2 separate regions of the Homo sapiens genome follow, and region 2 is linked to region 1. Evidence: promoter capture Hi-C in human tissues and cell types (Jung and others, 2019). All regions are on one chromosome and are shown on one strand. The core of a region is centred on a gene start or on the middle of the fragment in contact, and the rest is flanking DNA. Distances in the headings are between cores, read along the strand shown.

Region 1 (4,912 bases), core at 1,502-4,001:
TAATGTACAAACTGGGTGAGTCCTGCCTTAGTGTGTCCTGCCCCACCGGTACGCTTCCAGGATACTCTTTTCCCCTCTGTAAAGTCACTTTCTTCTGATGGCCAGTGTCACTATGATGTCAGTGAGGTCTGGGGATGAGGACAGTGTGTCCTGAAATTCACAGGACTGACTCCTCACCCCAGTGCACGAGGATTCCTGTGGCATCAGGTGCTGCTGTACCTGGTGTAGGAGCCTAATCATTGAACCATTGTGTTACTCACATTCCATGTCACAGAACATATCAGCCTCAAGAAGGATTTGGTGGAGGTGGATTTACCACTGGTTTTACAAAGGACCGTGTAAAGTCATTGAAGTTGTGAAAGTCTATTTTTTTTCCTGTAAATCTATTTTTTACAGAATATAAGAAACATCAATGACCTGATCTGTCCTTCCTCCTCCTTCCCGCTTCCCCCAAAATCACATTCCAGTTTTTATTGTCTTTGTGTCCAAAGTAAACTAGGTGACTTATTTGTATAAAATGTTATTTTGCCACATGAGACAGTAATAAAAGAAAGATTTTCACAGTACGTCTCCCTCGTCCTGTCTCCTGATTGTTGGGCCCGTTGTGTTGCTGAGGGGAGCAGGGGCGAATGGGGGCTCCAGGTTTCTCTTACTTTGGCTATTATGTGGCCCTTCTGTAAGTAGTTGAACTAGAGTATAGCTGGCTTCTAGGGTGATTGAGGAATTGTACTGGACTTTAGGCTTAATATTTTTGCTTTATATTTTCCCAGGGTGAGTGGCTTTGTAAATTGAAAGTTTACATGCATGTTTTAAAGGTAGGGTTTTTTTTTTTGAGATGGAGTTTCGCTCTTTTTTCCCAGGCTGGGATGTGATGGCATGATGGTGGCTCACTGCACCCTTCGCCTCCCGGGTTCAAGTGATTGTCCTGCCTCAGCCTCCCAAGTAGCTGGGATTACAAGTGCATGCCACCACGCCCGGCTAATTCTGTATTTTTGGTAGAGACAGGGTTTCCCCATGTTGGCCAGGCTGGTCTTGAACTCCTGACCTCAGGTGATCAACCCGCCTTGGCCTCCCAAAGTTCTGGGATTACAGGTGTGAGCCACTGTGGCTGGCCATAAAGGTAGGCTTATTAAGAAATACTTTAACTACAGTAAAATTTACCTCAATTAAGAGTATTGATGCATTTTGACAAATGAATACTTTTATTACCCATCACAATCATGATATAGGACATTTCCATCGTACCCACTCAGAAAGTTCCTGAGTTCCTTGTGTTTGCAGCCAGGTGACTTCCCCCACTTCGCCTCTTGCAACCACTATCTGATTCTGTCTCTATTGGAAAACTTGGATACTTTTAAAATGAAATTTGAACGTTCATATTTACAGTCACAAATTCTCAAGAGTCTGGTTTAGATGCTCTGTGGCACCTGAAGCAATTATTGGCCTTTGCTCACAAACACAACTCACTTATTTCTCCCTTTTCTCCTGCTTCTTCATCGTTTCTTCCACCCAGGGCTGGTTCCCAGGTGGGATGACGGAAAGGTGAGGAAGCCCTTAGAGCATTTGCCAATGGGAGCCATTCATTTGACTTTAAAGTACTGAGAATTTAGAGGCGTTCTTTTAAATGCATTATTTAAAAAGAAAGGTAACACATTAAGGACTTTGCTGCATCTTTTGATTGGCTTTCTTCTAGGAAGTAGTGACCGAGGTTTCCACTTTCCTCCAAGAGGAAGAGACAGAAGTTTTGGCAAATAGGTCAATGCTGGGAACAGATGCCTGCCTGGCTGAGTGCTGGGAAAGAAAGGCAGTTGGAGGGATGTGTGGGTGCCTGGGAGGGCGTGGGTGGTGCCCAGGAGGCTATGGGAATCAGAATCACACTTGCACAAGAGAAGACCCTTATGGGACAAGTAAAATCAGCATAGTTTCTTGGGCGGGGCAAAGGTGTCCTGATGAGGATGCTAGGGGTCAAATATGTGTCTGGGTTCTGCCCCAATCGGGAATGAGACACAGTACTGAAGTGGAACGGGGGTAGCATCTCCACCCACCTTCACAGCCTCTGGGGAAAAGAAAGCTTTCCTTGCAGCCCAACTCCAGGGGCCTAAATATTGAGCACCAACACAAGACAGGTCCTTGAGCTTCTCGGAGCGAGTCGGGGAAGCAGATAATTTCAGATGCAAAGTGCCTTGAATAAACAGAACGAAAGATAGAGAGCCAGAGGGGGAGAAACGGCTTGGTGTGGTCAGGGCAGGCATCCATGAGACCTAAACGAAGAGGGGGCATTCCAGACAAAAGGAACAGTGATCACAGAGGCCCCGAGTCAGGAACCAGCTAAGGGTCTTAGAGAAGAGCTGCCTCGTAAAGCTAAGCAACAATAACCAGGGAACGGTGGGCATGGGCCCTGATAGACAAGGCAGGTCTTGGCTTTTTAAGCCATAGAATTGGATTTTAGGAGGGATGGGCCCGCCGACAAAGCCAACAAAGTTTTAACCCGAAGATCGCTATCTTATTTATGCTTTAAAAAGACCTCTCTGGCCTTTCTGCGAAGCTCTATCCTTAGCTTTCTCTTGTTAGCATTTTGATTAACGAATGTGGGCACGAACAGCCAGCTGACCGACCGCGCGCGCAGTCGAGCGTCGGTTCCTCGCCTTGGGAGGGACCACTGGAGGCCCCGCCCCCTGGCCGCGAGCGCACCTCGGCCCCGCTCCCGAGGCCCTACGGGCGTGGCCTCTGTCCCGGGTCCCGCCCCCCAGCACTCCGGAACAGCGCGCTCGCAGCGGGAGGTCGCGAAGCCTGGGACTGTGTCTGTCGCCCATGGCCGCCGCGCTGCTCGCCCGGGCCTCGGGCCCTGCCCGCAGAGGTGAGTGCGCTGGGGATCCGTACGGCGGGGCTTCAGCCCGCGTCTGGCCCAGCGGGCGGAGGTCCTGGCGGCCGGCTCTGTCAGAGCCGCTGGCAGGCGGAGCCCCACTCCGGGAGCGCTCACGGCCTTTGCCCCAGTTCTGCTGCTCCTTGCGCCGACCCAGCCCGGCCCTTCAGGCGTCCCTGGTTCCTGCACAGACCCCTACCCCCCGATTGACCCCAGCCACCAGCCCAGTTCCCAGTTCCCATATCTCCCTCCCTTCATTTCACCCCCACTAGAGGTTCAGGGTGCGTCCTTCTTCCGGAGCCAGGCCTGGGATTGAACCAGACCCGCATCTGTGACCTTGGGCAAGACAGCCCCTCCTCAGCCTCGGTTGGCCCATGTGTAAAATGTCCACAGAGAAAATCAGAGTTGTTGGGAGGATTAAATCATAGGGTATGTAAAGCACTTCGTGCCTGGCGTGTAACAGGTGTTCCACAAATGCTCGTTCTTGCTGGTTAATACAGTACCTTTCCCATCTTACGTGTCTCCAGTTGTAGCAGCCGTGACACATATAGCCACGGCTTCCTTTGCCTGGCCTGAATTACAAGGGGAACGCTACTGAGAACTGTGTTAAGCGCTAGTTAGTCTTTCTTTCGCACTCCGAGGAGCGGAATACTATTCGCCTCCACTTGTTATAGAAACGGAGGCTCACTGACGTTTAAAACCCTTGCCTAAGGTCACAGAGCTGAGGTCTTATTACTGTTGGTATTATACTGAGGACTGAAGGATGTAGTGTATGGAAATGTCTAGTGAGTGTACTAAGCATTCAGTTAGTATGGGGTTTTCAGTGGCCGCCATGGACATTTTGGGCTGACAGTTCTTTGTTGTGGGGGCTGTCCTCTGCCTTGTTGGATGTTCAGCAGGGATCCCGGACCCCTATCCACTGGGTACCAATAGTATTCCCCTGCTCTAGTTGTGACAACTAGAACTGGCTCCAGACATTGCCAGATGTCCCTTGGAGGGCAAAATCCTCCCTGGTGAGTTAGTGGGTCACTAGGATTCTTGGAGACCTCCTGCCTCCTCCTTCCACTCACTTCTGCCCTTGCCGGCAGCTCTCTGTCCTAGGGCCTGGCGGCAGTTACACACCATCTACCAGTCTGTGGAACTGCCCGAGACACACCAGATGTTGCTCCAGACATGCCGGGACTTTGCCGAGAAGGAGTTGTTTCCCATTGCAGCCCAGGTGGATAAGGAACATCTCTTCCCAGCGGCTCAGGTGAGAGTGCAACCTCAGCAGCCCACGATAGTGGTCTGCCCTCTGCTACTGGATGAATGGTGGCAGTGACAGTCAGCGGCACTCGGACTCTGGTAGAGGAACCCCAAAGCAGGGCCTGGAACCCAGAAAATGCTCTGGAAGTTTCCCTTGTCCAGCCTGTGGCCAGTAGCCAGGACTTAACTTCTGGGACAACAGTAATATGTGGTGGATGGTCAGTTGCTTACTGTGCCAGCCACTGTGCTCATTCTAAATAGTGCCTTTAGGGTGTTTGGCATGCACTAGGCACTGTTCTTGAGATGGGTTATCTCATCTGTTCCTCACAACGGTCCTGTGAGGTGAAGGTACTATTCTTATTTATTTTTTTGAGACGGAGTTTCACTCTTGTGGCTCAGGCTGGAGTGCAATGGTGCGACCTCGCCTCACTGCAGCCTCTGCCTCCTGAGTTCAAGTGATTCTCCTGCCTCAGCCTCCCAAGTAGCTGGGATTATAGGCGTGCACTGCTCTGCCCCGCTACTTTTGTATTTTTAGTAAAGACGGCGTTTCACCATGTTGGCCAGGCTGGTCTCAAACTCCTGAATTCAGGTGATCTGCCCACCTCGGCCTCCCAAAGTGCTGGGATTACAGGTGTGAGACACCACGCCCGGCCAAAGGTAGTATTATTATATACCCCATGGACTCAGACTTGTGAACAAGTTAAATAACATACCCAAGGTCATGGAGCTCATCAGCGGCAGCCTGCTCGACCTATTTTCTTTTTTATTTACTTATTTTTTTTTGAAATGGACTCTCGCTCTGTT
Region 2 (4,704 bases), core at 420-2,919, 360 kb before region 1:
GTCTTCCACACAAAGCAAGGAGCTCATTGACCAAAAGTCGGGGGAGGAGGGAAGGAGAGAGGGAGGGGGCTTCAAGGGATGCTTTGCCATTGGTCTGGATGAAGAGGGGGTGTCGCAGAGCCAAATACTAGTTAGAGTTCACAGAAGCCACCGGGTGGGTCAGTGCTACCCTGACTCACCCAATTTGGGCTGGGGGAGGGACCTAGCCCCACCCCAAGCTCTGCTCTGAGGCATCATGATTAGTACTTCTAGGGAGAGGGTGGCGGCTGCCTCTCCCCTCACCAGGACTAGGGGAGGGGGGATGTAGCATCTCATGGCAGGCCAGGGATTTTTCTCCTCCCTCTCCCCCCCAACTCTAGTGACAAAGTTTCAGAGCATGGCAGCCCTCTTACTCAGAAAAACTCCCTCCTTCCTCATGGACCCCGTCCAGCTGTCCCCTGGGGAGAGTCCTGACCCTCTCCTCCGGCAGCCTCCCTCTCCCAAAGGACCCCCGAAGCCCCGAGGGCCACTCACTGTTTTGGAGTCGAGCTCGTGCCGCGATTGCGCCAGCACTTTATCCACCCCCGCCTGGTCCATGAAAGTGACGAAGCCGAAACCCCTGCGCGCCGTAGTGAGGGAGAGGCAGATGGTTACAAGGCAGTGAGTGGCGGGTGGAGGGGGGCGAGCCGGGAGCAGGAGGAGGGGGTGAGGGGCTCACCTGGATCTCTTGGTCAGGGGGTCCCGCATCACCAGACACTCCTTCACCTCCCCGAACTGGCCGAAGTATTCGCGCAGCCCTTCTGTAACCACACACCCGCCTTCGGACCAGCCCGGGCCCCGCGCCCTTCCCCCCCCCCCGTCCTTTGCCCCCGGTGACCCCGGAGCGGCCCGGCCGCCCCCGCGCCAAGCTGCCCGCGCGTTCTCCACTGCCGCCGCCCCCCACCGCCCTCGCCCCGTTCCCGCTGAGCCTCCTGGCGCCCACCGGGGCCCCGGGAAGCCGAGGGCCGAGCTGGGCTGGAAGGGGGACGGCTCCGGCCGGGTTCCCGCCGCTCCGGGAGCAGCCTCACAAAAGTTTGAGCCGCAGGTGCGAGCGGAGTTGGCGCTGCCGCCGGCGGGTCCCGGGGGCCCAGCCCACCCCCCGATACCCCCTGAACCCCTCATCTGCTCCCCTCCACCCGCTGGGCCGGGTGCGCTCGCGGATCGCCCTGCGCTCTCGGGGTCTCCGGGCGGGGCGCGAAAGAGGGCGCGAGGGCGCCCGGGGTCAGCAGGGCGCAGGGCCGGGCTGGGGTGTCCGGGTCCGGGGCGCCGGGGGGTCCGGGGTGCCCTGCCGGACCGGCGGGCGCTCCCGGGCTCGCTCACCCTGCGTAGTCTGCCAACTGAGTCCCCCGATGAACATCTTGCTGCGGGAGGAGGAGAGACACAAAGGGCCCGCGTGAGCGCCGGGCGCCAGGGCGCAGGGGGCGCGGGCCCGGGCTCCGGGGAGGCCCGGCCGGACCCGGATCGGCCATGTTGGCGGGGCCGGGGCGGGCGCGGGCCAAGCAGGCCGGGCCGGGCCGTACCAGGGGTCGTGCGGCGAGTCCGGGGAGGCGAGGCCGGGCTGGGGCGCGTCAGTCTCCATCGGGAGCCGCGGGCGGCGCGGGCAGCGGAGCGGCGGCGGCGGCGGCGGCGGCGGCGCTCGGCGCGGGGCAGATGAGGAGCGCGGCGAAGGGGGCCGGACGGACAGGCCATGCTGCCCCCTCCCCCGACCCCGCTCGGGCGGGCGGGCGGGGACGGCCGAGGGGAGGGCCCGCCGGGGGCCGACCTGCCGGCTCCTCCCCCCGCCGCCCTGCGCGCATAAAGCCCCGCGCTCGCCCGCGAGCCCGGGCGCCCGCGGAGGCGGCGGCGCCGGGACCCCCTTCCCGCGGGGCTCCTGGGTCTCCGGGGCCGAGCGAGACCCCCGAATCCCGGTGCGGGCCGGGACCAGGGCGCGGCCGCACCCCCCACCCACCCCGGCGCGGGGGCCCGGCCGCGGGAACGCCCTCCCGGAATGAAGCGCTTCCCGGTGCCTTCAAGGTAGCTCGGTTCCGGATCGGGAACCCCCCCGGTCTTCCCTCTCAGGTCCCTGCTGTCCAGAATTGAAGAGAACCCCAATCTCCTCGGGTCGGGCGGGAGATAGCCCTAGTGCTCCCCAGTCCCCACATGCTCCATTTCCCCAGTCGGAGCGAGAAGCCGCCCTCAGAGCCCCCAGTTTCCTCCCAACCTAATTTACAGCCCCCCACCCCCACCCCAGGGCTCTAATTTAGAGCCCTCGCTCCGTTCCCAGGATCCCATATCCAGTTTGGGGGACCCACTCAGTGCCTCGCGTCCCGAGTGGGGAACCTCCATCAGCACCCCAGTAGAAACCGTATCCTCTTCCCCAATCCGTCCTCAGCCCTTGGTGTCCAAAGTGAGAGTCCCCCTTAGTTTCCCCAAATCCCTGCCGTCCACATTAGTGGACCCTATGGTCTGTTGAGAAAATCCCGCGCCCCAAGCCCGGGTTCTCAGTTTGCCGCCACCCCCACCTCCCGGTGTGAGGAGTCTCCCCTGGTTCTCTCCCTCCCTGGCCGGTTTTTGTGAGATCCATTCAGACTCCTGTCCTGATTCGGGAAACCCGGTTCCAGACACTCACCACCCCCACCACACCGAGGCTGGAGGAAAAGGCAGTGCCTCTTAGAGCCTCCTGTTTCCAGTTTAGGAGCCCAACGCCTCAGCTGTGCACCGTCCCCTCCGAATGACCCCCTTCTTTTGCAGAGGTCTAAGCTCCACCCCATCCCATTGGAAGAGCCTAAACTACCTACCCACTGCATTTGGAATGACTTCCCTCAGTCCCTCTTATTTTGAGGCTACTCCCCGTGAAGGCAAACACCTTCCTTTCTACCCCCATCTTCTGGGTCTCTGGGATCCCCCAGTACTTGCACCCAAGGCTCCTTGGAGTCACCTTACGTACCCCTAAAATTCCCTCCCTCCAGCCTGGGAACAACCCTGAGAAAGTATTCTGGTTCACCAGGGGAGCTGCGGGGCCACTCTCCTTATCCCCACCTCTCCTTATCCCCGCCTCTCCATATCCCCACCTCTCCATATTCCCACCTCTCCATATCCAAGCCTTAGGACCCTTCACTTCCCCAGCTGAAACCAGCCAAAAAAGGATCAAACCAGGAAGCTTAGGTGGCCAACACCCCTTCTCCCCATCCCTGCTGGGGGTCTCAGTGCCACACAAGCCCCTCCCTCCCAACTCACCTTCTACTCCTTCCCCCATCCCTACCTTAATCCATCCGGTGTAATCCAGTGACAACCCATGTTGACAAGCCCTTTGCTGTTCACCTTCACATTCCATCCTGAATTCAACACCTTTTATTCCTGGGCATCATAACTCTGACCTCTGGAAGGGTGCCCATCCCCCTCTTGATAGCCCTCCTTCCCTCTCCCCACCCCAACCATCAGGCAGAGAAGAAAGTGAGAGACTTACAGTAATGGTTTCCTTGGGGACCTTCTGGGAATGCTCAGCAGGTATATCCTGCCACCCTGTGAGCATAACACTAGAAACAAACTTGCTTTTTCCTGTTTGTGTCCCCTACTCTGCCCCACAGTTTCTCAGCATCCCCTGGACTGGGGACTGGAGGGCCACCCACACAAGGCATTTCTTACCATTCCGACACAAAAGCATTCCAGTTTGTGTTGTAGCAGAGACACAGATGAGGGTGAGCAGGTAGCCTCTGCGGTATTAGGGAGGTGACTCTTCTTAGGTCTGAACTTAAAAAGGGTCATTGGAGAGGTGCGGGGAGTAGGGATCTTCCAGTGTTCCTGGACTTTGGTTTGTGTGCTGGTGCTGCTGGGCAGATGAGCTTGAAGGATAGGAAATGGGTCCTTTCCGGCAGTGGCGACCTACCCACGAGAACATGCCTCTCGACAGGGATCTCCTTCATCCTTCTCCAGAAGAGAAGAGGAAACAGAAGAAGAAACGCCTGGTGCAGAGTCCCGATTCCTACTTCATGGATATGACATGCCCAGGATGCTATAAAATCACCATGGTCTGTAGCCATGCACAAACGGTAGTTTTGTGTGTTGCCTGCTCCACTGTTCTCTGCCAGCCTACAGGAGGAAAAGGAAGGCTACAGAAGGATGTTCCTTCAGGAGGAAGCAGCACCCAAAGCACTCTGAATCAAGATGAGTGGGAAACCATCTCAATAAACACATTTTGGATTAAAAAAAAAAAAGGAAATGGGTAAAGGCATCTGTTCAGAGTCAGCCAATGCTGTGTAAGAAGTAGCTTGAGATAGGATCCATGTATTAGCATATTCATTCAGAATCTGAGGAGGAAGCGTCTACCTCTTTTGGTCAGTAGCTTGTTTGTATCACAGTAACATGGGTTAGACTTAGACAAATCCTCTTTCAGTGCAGGTGTATCTCAGCTGCAGCAGCTTCAGTCCACTTTGTTCACAATAGGGGCGACAAGCCCTTCTAGAGGTAGCCCTCACAGGACAATGCAGTTGTAAACTCATGATCCTCATAGTAAATTGAGGATCTCAGTGGTATTAAGGAAAAATGATCTTTAGAGCAACAGGCCCAGACTTCAGAATTAAGAGATTAGAGGATGTGGTTCCAGCTCTTTTTCTCTGGTACTACACACACAGAACATCACTCAAAGAATAAAAGAAGAATTTGCTTTATAGTTTTTAAAAAATCCTCTTGAGAAAGACAGTGGGCAAA

The links. Contacts are between HindIII fragments. The study calls those that stand out against the background at their distance.
Region 2: a contact is called between the fragment with the promoter of MSI1 here and the fragment with the promoter of ACADS in region 1, in 2 of the 25 tissues and cell types used here (IMR-90 fibroblasts and lymphoblastoid cells).

The regions. Positions count from the first base shown.
Region 1 is chr12:120,723,075-120,727,986 of GRCh38, forward strand. It overlaps ACADS (acyl-CoA dehydrogenase short chain), which reads left to right and starts at 2,752. Exons shown (of 10, transcript NM_000017.4): 1 at 2,752-2,857; 2 at 3,952-4,115. The coding sequence starts at 2,812. UNC119B (unc-119 lipid binding chaperone B) reads left to right here. Exons shown (of 5, transcript NM_001080533.3): 5 at 1-566. It overlaps MIR4700 (microRNA 4700), which reads left to right and starts at 119; the gene lies at 119-192. RefSeq lists an enhancer at 2,424-2,925 and a silencer at 2,562-3,071. The HindIII fragment of the contact is 31,377 bases long and covers 1-4,912 here.
Region 2 is chr12:120,367,495-120,372,198 of GRCh38, forward strand. MSI1 (musashi RNA binding protein 1) reads right to left here and starts at 1,670. Exons shown (of 15, transcript NM_002442.4): 1 at 1,539-1,670; 2 at 1,339-1,379; 3 at 698-779; 4 at 514-598. The coding sequence starts at 1,597. It also overlaps the pseudogene RPS27P25. The HindIII fragment of the contact is 19,353 bases long and covers 1-3,978 here.